4 separate regions of the Homo sapiens genome follow, and all the other regions are linked to region 4. Evidence: promoter capture Hi-C in 16 types of primary human blood cells and fetal thymus (Javierre and others, 2016). All regions are on one chromosome and are shown on one strand. Each heading gives the region's core, a stretch centred on a gene start or on the middle of the fragment in contact. The rest is flanking DNA. Distances are from core to core; before and after follow the strand shown.

The links. The method cuts DNA at HindIII sites, captures the fragments that hold promoters and counts their contacts. A CHiCAGO score of 5 or more calls a contact.
Region 1: a contact is called between a fragment that was not itself captured here and the fragment with the promoter of GLB1L3 in region 4, in 1 of 17 cell types (total CD8 T cells). The highest score is 5.2, in total CD8 T cells.
Region 2: a contact is called between a fragment that was not itself captured here and the fragment with the promoter of GLB1L3 in region 4, in 3 of 17 cell types (activated CD4 T cells, non-activated CD4 T cells and naive CD8 T cells). The highest score is 9.1, in activated CD4 T cells.
Region 3: a fragment that was not itself captured here is called in contact with the fragment with the promoter of GLB1L3 in region 4 in 7 of 17 cell types (naive CD8 T cells, activated CD4 T cells, total CD4 T cells and 4 more); the score reaches 7.4 in naive CD8 T cells.

The regions. Positions count from the first base shown.
Region 1 is chr11:134,596,575-134,599,407 of GRCh38, forward strand. No RefSeq gene overlaps it. Among named protein-coding and RNA genes, the nearest start is that of LINC02706, 110 kb to the right of the region's middle. The HindIII fragment of the contact is 162 bases long and covers 1,372-1,533 here.
Region 2 is chr11:133,914,078-133,916,786 of GRCh38, forward strand. All of the region lies in intron 18 of IGSF9B (immunoglobulin superfamily member 9B), which reads right to left. Among named protein-coding and RNA genes, the nearest start is that of MIR4697, 17 kb to the left of the region's middle. The HindIII fragment of the contact is 1,001 bases long and covers 939-1,939 here.
Region 3 is chr11:133,935,227-133,938,291 of GRCh38, forward strand. It overlaps IGSF9B (immunoglobulin superfamily member 9B), which reads right to left. Exons shown (of 20, transcript NM_001277285.4): 4 at 2,584-2,735; 5 at 2,150-2,267; 6 at 827-968; 7 at 391-536. Among named protein-coding and RNA genes, the nearest start is that of IGSF9B, 20 kb to the right of the region's middle. RefSeq lists an enhancer at 1-606. The HindIII fragment of the contact is 4,497 bases long and covers 1-3,065 here.
Region 4 is chr11:134,275,019-134,278,075 of GRCh38, forward strand. It overlaps GLB1L3 (galactosidase beta 1 like 3), which reads left to right and starts at 1,361. Exons shown (of 20, transcript NM_001080407.3): 1 at 1,361-1,745; 2 at 2,308-2,433; 3 at 2,682-2,894. The coding sequence starts at 1,723. RefSeq lists enhancers at 520-629, 690-819, 970-1,019 and a silencer at 1,470-1,539. The HindIII fragment of the contact is 7,995 bases long and covers 1-3,057 here.

The DNA.
Region 1 (2,833 bases), core at 203-2,702, 320 kb after region 4:
ACCCGAGAGGTTAGCAGCTTTGAGGAGGTTTTGGGCCAGGTGCTCATCTCTTGACAGCTTAGGTTCAGGGGTGGGGAGTCCCAGCAGGCACTCTAGCATTGGCCACCAACAAAAGAAGGGAGGTTCTTGGAGATGAGCCCCCTAAAATGTGGATGCCCTTAGTGATTGTCCTAGGGTTATTCTTTATTGTCCGCTAACGCATTAGCTACTGCACTGCTGGCACATAACACTTCAGGATTCCCCAGAATGGGAACCAGGAATGGGGATGAGGATAGACTGATGGGACTGAAAAATCTCTCCTATGGGAGGACTAGGCAAGAGGAAAAGAATCGTGGCAGTATCAGAGAAGGCCCCAGACATGGCTCTCTCATTGTATTTATTTCATTCTGCTTAGAGCCTGCCCTGGGCTGCCAATGTTTTCCTAGACAACCCAGTTTGTGTCTCTCTACACTGTTAAGTTCAATACCCGTGCCTGATAGAGTCTTGTCCATTCTTAAAAACCTTCTTGGAAGAATTCAGATGCCCCAGGGTATCCTATTTTAGAATCTAGTAACCTTTCTTCTCTGAAGAGGAAAAAAAGCATTTATTTAATTGTCTGTTTATTTTTATATTTATTAAATATGACCTGGATTCCCTAACACTAATGTTGCTCATTTCTTCCACAAATGGCCATAGGCCCAGCTCTGGAAGCGATGCACGACCTCCTTGCGTGTGACTTGGGTTTTAAAGCCAGCATGCCAGAGTTCAAATTCTGGTTTTGCCCTTTATATACCTCTCCTGTTAGCTGTACTGCAGCCAGCAGGGTATAATCAAACGTAGGGTAGATTTTCTGCACTTCACAGCAAGGCATTCTAGAAGACCACAGGCAGCAGAGTGCCCAGTGCAATCTAAAACAGTGCGATGAATTTCTCCTCATGCAGGCGCGGGAGGGCGGGCTGGGCAGGGATTCCTGGAGCAGAGCTGCCACTTGCCTGTCAAATGCCTGGACCCCGCACACCCAGGCTGCAGTCCTCAGTCCATCGTGCTGTGTGCTGTATGCTTGCAATTGCTTCACTGTGCTGACCGCGTCCATCTGCCCCTGCTATGGAAAGGGAAGGGCACCTGTCCCCTCCCTGGGAGTTCCCTGGGTGCCCTGCACCAACAGGCACTCTTGTGTTCTGGCTGCCAGCTGGGCTTCAGAAATGGAAAGAACTAGCAATAGTGGAGAGGAGGGGGGCATGGGCCAGGACATGGAGCCTTGTCTTCCTCCTGGAGTGCTGTGGGCTGGCTGCTTCTCTGCATGGAGGCACAGCTCTCTTCAGGTGTCTCTTTCCACAAAGCTTGCTCTTCATCTTGTATGTAACCTCCAGTGGGGCACTGCATGTTCCCAAAAGCTTCCATTTTACTGATTGTTCCCTCCTCAAAAAGCCGAAACATGGTGCAACCCTGGAAGGTAGATGTGACCTCCTCAAACATTTCAGACACAGATGACACTGCCCATGTTGGAGCTTAAGAACTTGTCTTTTTTTCTGTAGTGTTTCTTGTATTCCTTAAAGCTTTACAGCAATTGCTTCTAAGCAGTAATAGTCAAGTGGAAATTCCTTGTACTTGTTTCAATAGCAAAATGAAAAAAAAAAAAGAATCACCTTCCGATCCCAACATGCCTTGAGCTTCTGAAGCAGATTGCCATCCACTTTGCACGGTTCTCCCTGCCCAAGGGTTCACAGTCTCTGCCCATAGGGCACATTCTCGAAGGTTGGCACCCAGACACCTTTCCGATGGCTCCAGCACGGGCCTCCAGTCACTCTCTTTTCCTTTGTCCCGTCTGGCTTTTCTTCCTACTTGACTTTAAATTGTATGTTCGTCATTGTCTTCCTTCCCCCACCGGAACGTGAGCTCCTCGGGCCAGGGACTGCTCCTGTTTGTTCTGACTCTCTCTGGAGGCTTTGGAGATCAGATCATCCTTTTGGCCCTCTGCAACCACCTCACCCCTCTCCTCTCTGCTCTGGGCAGCAGGAAGTTGGGCCATTTGAGGGCAATAGTGGGGACTCCTGACTTTGGGCTCCAGTCAGCTCCAAGGGGAGCCCTGTTTGAAGACTGGAGGGTGGGAGGAGAGTGAATGCAGGGTCTTGATTCTCCCTGGCCCTGGTCACTCCCCTTGGGGCCTAATGGTATTATAGCTCCCCCACACATTGATTGACAGCCCTGGGAGATCTCAGCATCCATTGTGGATTTTCCTATTGAATATTTCTATTCCTGATTCCTAGTCCTTCCTATCAAATTGCCCACACATTTGTCAATATCTCCTTTATTAATTATTCCTTATATTGCTCCTCAAACTGCCTGCCCATTTGTTTCATGCCTGAAACCTGACTGATCATGGTAACCATTCTTGGCATATATTAGGGACTCAATAAATATTTATTGAATGTTTTCCAATGATTGGAAACTAGGAATCGTAACTTGTTCCATGATGGCAACAGGAGCACTTTCTTAAATGAAGAGAGATGATCAAAGTGTCCATTAACATATTGATGGGAAATGAGTTTCCAAGATATTTCATAATTTAGAAAAACACTTTCTAACTAATTACATTTCTTGTATTTCTAATCAATCAGAATGGATAATGAATTTATAGATGAGGCTTGTTCAAAATCTCTGAACTTTCAGCAGGAAGAACCGTTTTTGGTGCTTCAGCTGCTACTTTTATATTTTTTTCTCATCTTATTCTGTCTTCTCCTAAAAGCTTCAGACACAGATGTTCTCATGCAGGCTCTCATGAGCTGAATTAATTGCTTGGTTTTTAACCACATCTTAAGCAGAGGCCCCAGCAGCCAAAGGCAAACAGCGGGTC
Region 2 (2,709 bases), core at 189-2,688, 360 kb before region 4:
GGTTAGAATCAACATCTTATCACTGTTGTCATTTTTATCATCTAGCATTGATTTACCACTTACCACAGCAGGCACTGCTGTACAATAATTGCCTGTAATCTCTACAGCAAACCTAAGAGGTAGATACTACAATGCCCCCATTTTTCAGATGGAGACACTGAAGTTTAGAGAGGTGAGCAACCTGTCGAATCATCCAGTCATCGTGGGAAAGAGCCAAGACTCTTAACATTAGGCTCACCTCTCCACTGCCCTTCCAGCGTCTTCCCAATCCACAAAGGTATAGCAGCTACAAAGAAGAAAAGCATGGCATCCCCGCCACACCTGAGAAATAGATCTGCCTTGCAACGTACTTGAGGCGAGCACTGACATTCTGTGCTTTGGTGGAACAGCCCCGGTGAGACAGACCAGGGCTGGAGAGGAGCCTGCTTAAGTTGTATCGTCAAAGCAAAAATTCCCAGACAGTAATGATCCAGTGACCAGAAGCAGCCGATTTTCCCTTGAGAAACAGCCAAGCTCCAGCCCTTCCGGGACACCTGCTGTCCACCTGTTTAGCTCTGGGCTCAGCACCGAAGCATAGCCACAGGACAAAAGAAGGCTCTGGACACACCAAGACCCTCACCCAATGTGGGAGGAAAAAACAAAAGCTGGTGTCTGGCAGAACAGGAGGGAGGAAGCAGGGCAGGCAAAATGAGTCTATTTTTGGCACATGGTACAGAAAAGACACATAGAATGTGACCTAACAGACTTTACCAACAGCACGTAAAGCCCTGTGCAATCGAATTGCCTCCCTGTTTTAGGAAGGTGACCATGTTTGTTGCCAACGCCAGCCCCACCTGGGGCCCTTTGGTCATGGAGCTCTTGGTGCCAATGTCTCAGGTGGGAAGCTTCAGTGAAGCAACTCCATCCTATCCCTGGAATTCAGCTGTCAGGTAAATCTAAGCTTGATCCATAGATGATGCCATTACCCCAGAAGCCAGTCCTGGGCTCTCCAAGAATTTAAGGTCACAGTTCTCTTCCCAACCAGCCTACACTGTTCTAAAGCATGCAGGAATGCTACGAACCCTGGGGCTCCCCTTCTCCCAGGAAGTCAGGGGATTACTCCAAGATGAGGGCCTCAAAGCCTTGGCACAGAGGTGTTTTTTGCAGTACAGAACTACCAACAATTGCCTGGAACTTACTTCTCTCTCTCTCTTTTTTTTTTTTTTTTTTTTTTGAGACAGGGTCTCTGTCACCCAGGCTGGAGTGAAGTGGCGCAATCTCGGCTCACTGCTGCCTCGACCTCCCCAGCTCAGATGATCTTCCCACCTCAGCCCCCCAAGGAGCTGGGACTATAGGCATGTGCCACCATGCCCAGCTATTTTTTTGTATTTTTTTGCAGAGATGGGGCTTCACTATGTTGCCCAGGCTGGCCTTGAACTCCTGGACTCAAGAGATCTGCCCTCTGGGCCACGGCACCCAGCCCACACTCTTTTTCTCTCTTTTCAAAAAATCCATACAAAACCCAAATCATGACCAGGTAGCCCAGGAGGTCTTATTTGCTTAGCTCTCAGCTTACCCAGAAGAGCTGAGGAAAGATGCAGCCAGGTCAAAGTGGAGGCAAGCCTCAGGACAGGGAAAGTCAAAACCCCCTGCATATTTCCTTAGCTCAGCGCCCAGGAGCTGACCATTTTGACCCTGTTCAGGTGTTCCCTGGCCAACAGGCTGAAGCAGTGGCTTGATGGGCATTTTCCTCCTCTTCTAATCACCTAAGAGCAAACACCACCTGCCTGATTATACACCGATGGAGGCAGGGGAAAGCCACTCATAGACGGGCCATAGCAAGGGAAAGGGTGGGCCCACTGCGGGAGTCTGCAGGTCTGAGCCCACCCCGCTGACCACAAGATGGAACCCTTCTGTGGGGCCGGACTCAGACCAGTGCTCTGCCTCAGAACCTGGCAGAAGCTTGTTTACAAAGGGGCCCCTTCCTACAGCTGACCCAGGACAGGGGCCACTCCATGCTCCAGACCCACCTGCCTCCCTGCGGTGACAGTCAGCCTGAATGGGAAAGGGAGTGGAAGCAGAGGTGAGGACAGGGCATCACTAGGCTCAGACAGGAGCTAAGAATTGGCTCGGCCTCCCCACAGTCCACAGAAAGGACAGGTCCACGCAATACAACTCCCCATGTTGAGAAGGGAGTTGGGAAGAGGAGAAAAAAAGGGAGAGAGAAAGGAGGAGAGGCAGGGGCAACAACTACATATGGACCAAAGGAACAGGAGAGGAACTGAAGGGAAAAGAAACAGTGAGAACGCACGTGGACAAGAGCTGTCACAACTTCTCCAAGCAAGACCAAGAGGGCACACATGCAAAGGTGCAGCATGGAGACAGCATCTGAACAGAGCCTGCATCTCCCCAGGACCCAGCAGCCGTACCGGGGAGGCTCCCAGCAGGCAGGAGAGGCCAGCACCGAGGGGCTGACTCAGGATGGGGAGGGTCTCCTTCTCCTAGGCTGGGGATGCTGGCCAGGCCCGGGAGAGAAACGATGGTCCCTCATCGCTGCCCCTGGTTTCTGGGTTTGCCACAGCAGTGAAAGGAGAGCGGGCTTCTCTTGGATCTGGCACAGTGGGGACACTGGGAAAGGAGAGGGTCAATGGAGTTGAGTGAAGGGGTGAGGAATAACACATGAGAGCAGAGTCTAGGAATTTCCAGGAGCTGGGGTGAGAGCTAGTCTAG
Region 3 (3,065 bases), core at 284-2,783, 340 kb before region 4:
GGGCCTGGGCTATGCTCCATAAGACACCTGAGAAAAGAGCACCAGAGAGCAACTGATTCTGGGCACAGAGGTGCAGGCCAGCCTTCAGCCCGAGGACCACCGTTCAGAAGGAACTGCTCAAAGGTGTCTTCCTGAGTGCAGCCTGCACGGAGCTGATGAGATGTACTGGCTGAACAGCGACGCCTGGCCAGCGAAGTAGGAGCTGCTCCACCCCAACTGTCCAGGGCCTCGGCCTCCTCTCCAGCCATCCCTCCTTCTTCTCTTATTCGCTCCTCCACCTACATGCCCCCAAATGATGCTTGGTCTTTGCTACCCTCCAGCCTACAGTCTGGCTAACACCAAAACCTTCTGGGAGCCCCACCACCCAGGCTCCCCTGCACCCCTACTCACACTGCACGGTCAGGTACGCCGAGGCGGAGGGGGAGCGCCCCAGGCTGTTGCTGGGCACACAGGTGTACTTCCCCGAGTCCTCCGGCTTCACCCGGAAGATGATCAGGGTCCCATCGATTAGGATGCGCACCCTCAGCTTCAGGTCGCTGCAAAGCGGCATGGGGACAGGGGGTTGGGCGAGCAGAAGGGGATCTTGCCGCAGACACACAGTCACCGTCACTGCCCCAGATGTGGCATGGAGAGCCCATGCCCCTGGCATCCCCAGGGCCCCTCCATGCAGACCCTGGCCTTGGCATGTGAGACACACGGACCAGACTGCCCACCTCCCCCAGCTCCAAGAGCCACGGGCAGCCTGCCCGTGCAATTTCTGCTCAGGGGCCCTGCCCGTGGGGGCTGGGGTGGCAACCTCATTGAAAAGTCAGAGCAGGGTGCTCACTTCTGAAAGTAGACGTTCTCGTCCTGCCAGTACCAGGTGTAGGTGAGGTTGCCCGGATACGCCTCTGCCCGGCAGGTGAGCAGAGCATCCTGGGAGATGTTGACGGTGATGTTCTCAGGAGGGGAGACGATGAAAGGGGGCCCTGGGGAGAGCAGGGAACAAACCCCACCTCGCCTGATCAGGGACGGCAGCAGCACCCAGGCCTCCTGGGAGCCCTCAGTGCCTCAGGAAGCGGTGCCCTGAACACTGCGATGGGGGCGGCTGTCATGGAGACACTTCCAGATGCTATCTGTGCTCAGGCATCCTGTCCACCACCCCTGCCCCCGCACCAGGCTCCCCAGACCAGCCGCCACGCACACCCCCTTCCTGCCTGCCTTCTCCCAGCAGAGCCCGAGCCAGACATGCAGCAGGGAGAAAGGCAACTCTTTTCAAATCTAGAGCGAGGAATAGTCCAGTCTCAAGGAGTCAGGGCCGTGGGCTGCTCCCCAGCCAGAAATCAAGAGGGCAGCTGGGGGTGCAGGGGCCGAGGAGTAAGCAGAGGGTGAAAGTCCAGCAGTCCTGGTGCTGGCTGCACAGACAAAGGGGGCAGCTGCGGCCAAGTCTCCCCTGAGAGGGAACAGCTTCCATCCAGGCTGCTGAGGGACCTCTGGCCCAGGCTGCTGCTCGGCACTCAGAGGCAGGAGGAGCATGCAGCCGCCACCAACCCCCACAACCCCCGAGTTCCTCCAGGAGGCAGGGCTGGGGAGGCTAAGCCGGGGGCCGAGTTCAGCACAGGGTAGAGACCCCCCGACCGGGACGCTGCCCCATCCTGCACAGTTCCTGGCCCCTCTCTGGGGACTCTGGGGCTCCAGGCAGGGCAGTCTGGCATCTCCCTGTGCTGACCATACAGACCCCAGCTCTGCCAAATGCCCACTGTGTTATTTAAATGTCTGGGGCTTGGATTGAGTTTCTATCTTTATTTATTGATGCCGTCACTAATGGATAGATGACCCCAGGGAGGTCTCCTCTCCCAGGGAGGCGGAGACATGGGAGAGATGCTATCTGAACAGAAGGAGAAACCAGAAACCCACACAGCAGGGGCCTCTCTGCCACGCCATGTGGTGCCTGGCCACGGCCTGTGGGCCTGGCCCTCTCCCAGGCAGCCGGTGCAGGAGCTCTGACCAGGGCAGCAGGCAGCACACAGGAGCCCCGCACAGGTCCTCATGGCCGCCTGCACCTCCACTAGCCCCAGCTGAGCCCTGGGAAAACGCCCTCCGTAGCTCAGCCGGGCTGGACATCCCCGCGGGAGCCCAGGGTTAAAGAGGCTGAGGAAATGGCTCCTACCTTGGACAAGCAGGTGAGTCGTGTGGACAGCCTCCCCCTGAATGCTGTACGCTCGGCAGGTGTAGGCACCTCTGTCCTCCCGACTGACCGATGTCACTGTCAGGCTGCCGTCACTCACCTGGGAGCCCAAAACAGAGGGAGCTCAGCACCCACGCTCACACCCACCGCTGCTACCCTCAAACACGGAGATGCAGTCGGAGACACTAAGGTGGAGATGACCACAGGGACAGATGCATCTGGGGGACACGAAGGGCAGGTGCCCCCTTGCCCATCTCCCGCCAGCGACACAGAGACGCCTGCAGCTGAGCCAGGCTACGGCTTTCCAGCCTCCTCTGTGCTTGTGCCTGTAGCATCAGGGGTCGGCTGCAGTAGGAGGCTGCCCTGGGGAAACGGGGGAAGAGACCGCAGCGGCCCCAACCTAGAACCACACTCACCTGGTATTTCCCACTAGCACCGAGGAGCGTCCCCTCCTTGAGCCAGGTGACAATGGGCTTGGGGTTCCCAAAAGCTGTGCAGGTCATGGTGATACTACCACCCTCCTTGGCCTCGATGTACTGGGGGGGTGTTTCTGTAAAGGTGGGAGGGGCTGCAAAGGAGACCACAAAGATGAAGGACACGCCATCAGCCACATCGCTGCCCTGCAACAACAGTACCTGCCCCACACATCACCCTCGCTGCGGCTCTGCGGAATGCAAGGACAAAGGAAGGAAGGTGGGGATGGGAAAAACTTTCTGCCTACCAACATCACTGGCAGGGAGACCTGCATCCAAACTCAGGCTGGCTGGGTCCAAATTCTGTATTGTAGCTTATTCCCAGGTCACCGATGTTAACTGAGCATCTACTCTAGGGTGGCCCTTACAAACACTGCCTGCTCCCAGCTCCTCAGGCTTTGCTACCATCCTTCAGTCTTTCCCTT
Region 4 (3,057 bases), core at 111-2,610:
CATGTAAAAACTGAAATAAAAATAATAACAGTTTAAATCTCTTGAGAGCAAAGGAAATATTTAAGTATAAACCTAACAAAACGTGATAGGATCTGATGTTGAAAAAATCACACAATTCTGATGAAAGAAGTGAAAAAAAAAAAACTATTTAAATAGACAGACATACCATGTTCGTGGGTTGGAAGATTCAACATAATAAGGATACAATTCTCAATTTGATCCATAGGTTGATTGCAATTCCTCTCGAAATACCAACATGGCTTTTTGTAGAAACAGACAAGTTTATTCTAAATTTTATGTGGGAAGGCACAAGCCCTAGAATACTTTAAACTTGACAAAGAAGAATAAAGTGTGTGGCTGTAAAACCAAACTGTAAAAAATTAACAGTTCATTGCTTGCAGTCGAAAAAATGAGGAAAAGATGGACGATCTAGGAAACTTTCAGGGAGCTAAGGTGTCGGAGAGCAAAGTATCCTTGTAAGGAATGAGACAAGATAAACTCCCTCCCCCACACACAGTATTTTCAGAGAACTACATTCTTGGTTTCAACCTGATGTCATAGGCTGTGTTCTTTGCAACGGAAGAAGCAAAGACTTCAAAGGGAGAAATCGGAAGATTTCTTTTTTCATCGTAGGGACTTCACATCAGCGTTTCCAAAACCGAGTCCATCGCCTTTTCCCTCTGCGCAGCCTCTATCCCTTCCTGTGTTTCGCATCTCAATAAACGTCCCCGCCAAGTGACTTCAGCCTGAAACATGCGGCCTCCCGGACTCCTCTCTGTGTCACCGACCTCTTGCGCTCAGTTCTCCGGAGCTGCCGGTTTAACCTCGCAAGTCTTCCCGGAACCCGTGCCCTCCTCCTGGGCAGCGTTACCACCACGAGCGCCTACCTGAGAGGACGCCTGTTCTCATCCAGCCTCCACCCTGCAGCCGAGCAATCTCCGTAAAACGAACACCTGGCTTAGTTTCTGCTGGAAACCGTTGAATAGTCCCCACTGTCTTCTGGAAGGGTCTGGGCAGCTCGGCGTGGCGTCCACGGCCCCACCAGGCCTCTGCCTCCTGCAGGTCCCGCTACTTCGTCACCAAAGCGCCCGCCGCGCTCGCATCTGCTGTGAGGCTGTGCTCGGGCCGCTCCCGCCGAGGGAACGGCCCTCCCAAGGCTCTGCGCCCCAATTCTCGCTCGTTTGCCAAGAGGTAGCCGTGTCGGGGAGCTAGAGTTCTCCGGGGACTCTCTCCTGCCCCTCGTGGCCCTCTGTGGAACCCTCGTTTTAGGATCTGCACGCCGTTTCCAGTCGCGCGCGCGGCACGGAGACCGCCCGCTGTGCCCCGCGCTGCGCTCTCTCCGCCCCTCTCCCGCGCAGGCCTCCCTGTGCCAGCCGGCTGTCGACCCAGGTTAGGAAGCCCGAGGTCGGGGCGTTACCCCAAGGGCCCTCCCGCTTCCCCTCCGAGGGCAGAGAGGCGTCCGCGCCCGGACGCACTGCGGGAACACCTGGAGCGCCGGCGGAGCTCGGCTGTCCCCGCGGGAGGGAGCCCGACGCGCATCCTTGGGACCCGGACCCGGCGCCCGCGCCTCGGGACGGATTTCTGCCTCGGCTGCAGGCGCAGCGCGCAGACCTGAGCCTGCCCCGCGGAACCGGGGCTCGAGTCCCGGCCCGAGCGCGGCGTCGGGGCCAGCGGAGAGGGGCGGAAGCCGCAAGGGACCCTCGGCGCCTCGGCCTGGCCGCGATGAAGTCCCCGCCCCTCCTCAGGTGACGGATCGCCGCTGCCGTCCCGGGCTGCCCACCACCCCGGCGCGTGCCCGGGAGCCTCCACCCTCCCCGGGTTCTGTGGCCGGCCACGCGCCCCAGGCACGCGCCGCGCCGGGCCGCGCCACCAAGCCCGCTGTCCCCAGCTTTCCTCGGCAGATCCCCTGGCTACCCCCACCCTGCGGAGGGGCCGTTCACCAGATGCCAGAAAATCAGGGTGGGGCACGCAGGCCAGGGGCTCCAGCGGCTGGGCACCGTGTCCTTCCCGAACCTGGTGCTGGAAGTGCGCCCGCCTCCGCCTCTCCCAGGCACCCACCGGCACTGCCCAGCCCTGTCTGGAGGGTCTAGGACTGAACGTCTGTCCCCGGCCTTCATCCTGGCTGCAGAGGACTGGCCGGGTGATGCCGCGCTGTCCTGGCCCTGGGCCCGCCTGGAAGACCCGCCTGTGTCGCGGGCCCCCTCCCTGGCTCTGGCCTCTAAAGCGCCCCCGGCACAGCTTCCCGGCCCTTGCAGCCCGGTGGGGCCGGAACCTTCCCCTTGTCACTGTTGTCCTTTCTCCTTTCAGCCCGTGTCTCTCCTGGAAGAGAATGGCGGGCATCTTTTTCCTGCCATTTATCTCATCAGGTTTTGCTCCTCGGTTTAAGCAGGAAGAGAACTTCATGCTTGGAAGAGCGCATCCGTCCCAGCCTAGGTTTGCTTGAGAGCTACATCCCTGGGGAGGGAGGGGAGCGATCTCTCCTTTCTTGGAGAAAATAGTATCGCGAATATGCACAGAACACGTCCTACTAACATATGCACAGAACACGTCCTACTAACATATGCACAGAACACGTCCTACTAACAAAAACTTCTTTTCGCTAGGGTTTCAGCCGTGCCTCCGAGCCCTCTCCCGAATCCTCTCTCCCTTTCCACTTTCTTTCCCTCGCCCGCCCCCTCCAGGTTTAATTGGTCTCATCTGACCCCTCTGGAGCTGAAGAATCGATCTGTGGGACTTGGAACTGAAAGCACAGGTCGGGGTAAGCCCCACTTCACACTGGAGGGCCACAAGTTCCTGATCTTCGGGGGCTCCATCCACTATTTCCGGGTGCCCAGGGAGTACTGGAGGGACCGCCTGCTGAAGCTGAAGGCCTGTGGCTTCAATACTGTCACCACGTGAGTGCCGGCCCCTCACCTCCAGGATCTCGTTACCCTACAAGTGCATCCTGGCCGGGAACCTGAGCCTCCGATTTTGGGGGCCCAGCGTGAGGACTTACCTTCCGCACAGTCGTTTCCAGCACATACATTTAATGCTTAAGCGTCCAGCTGTCACTTAGTC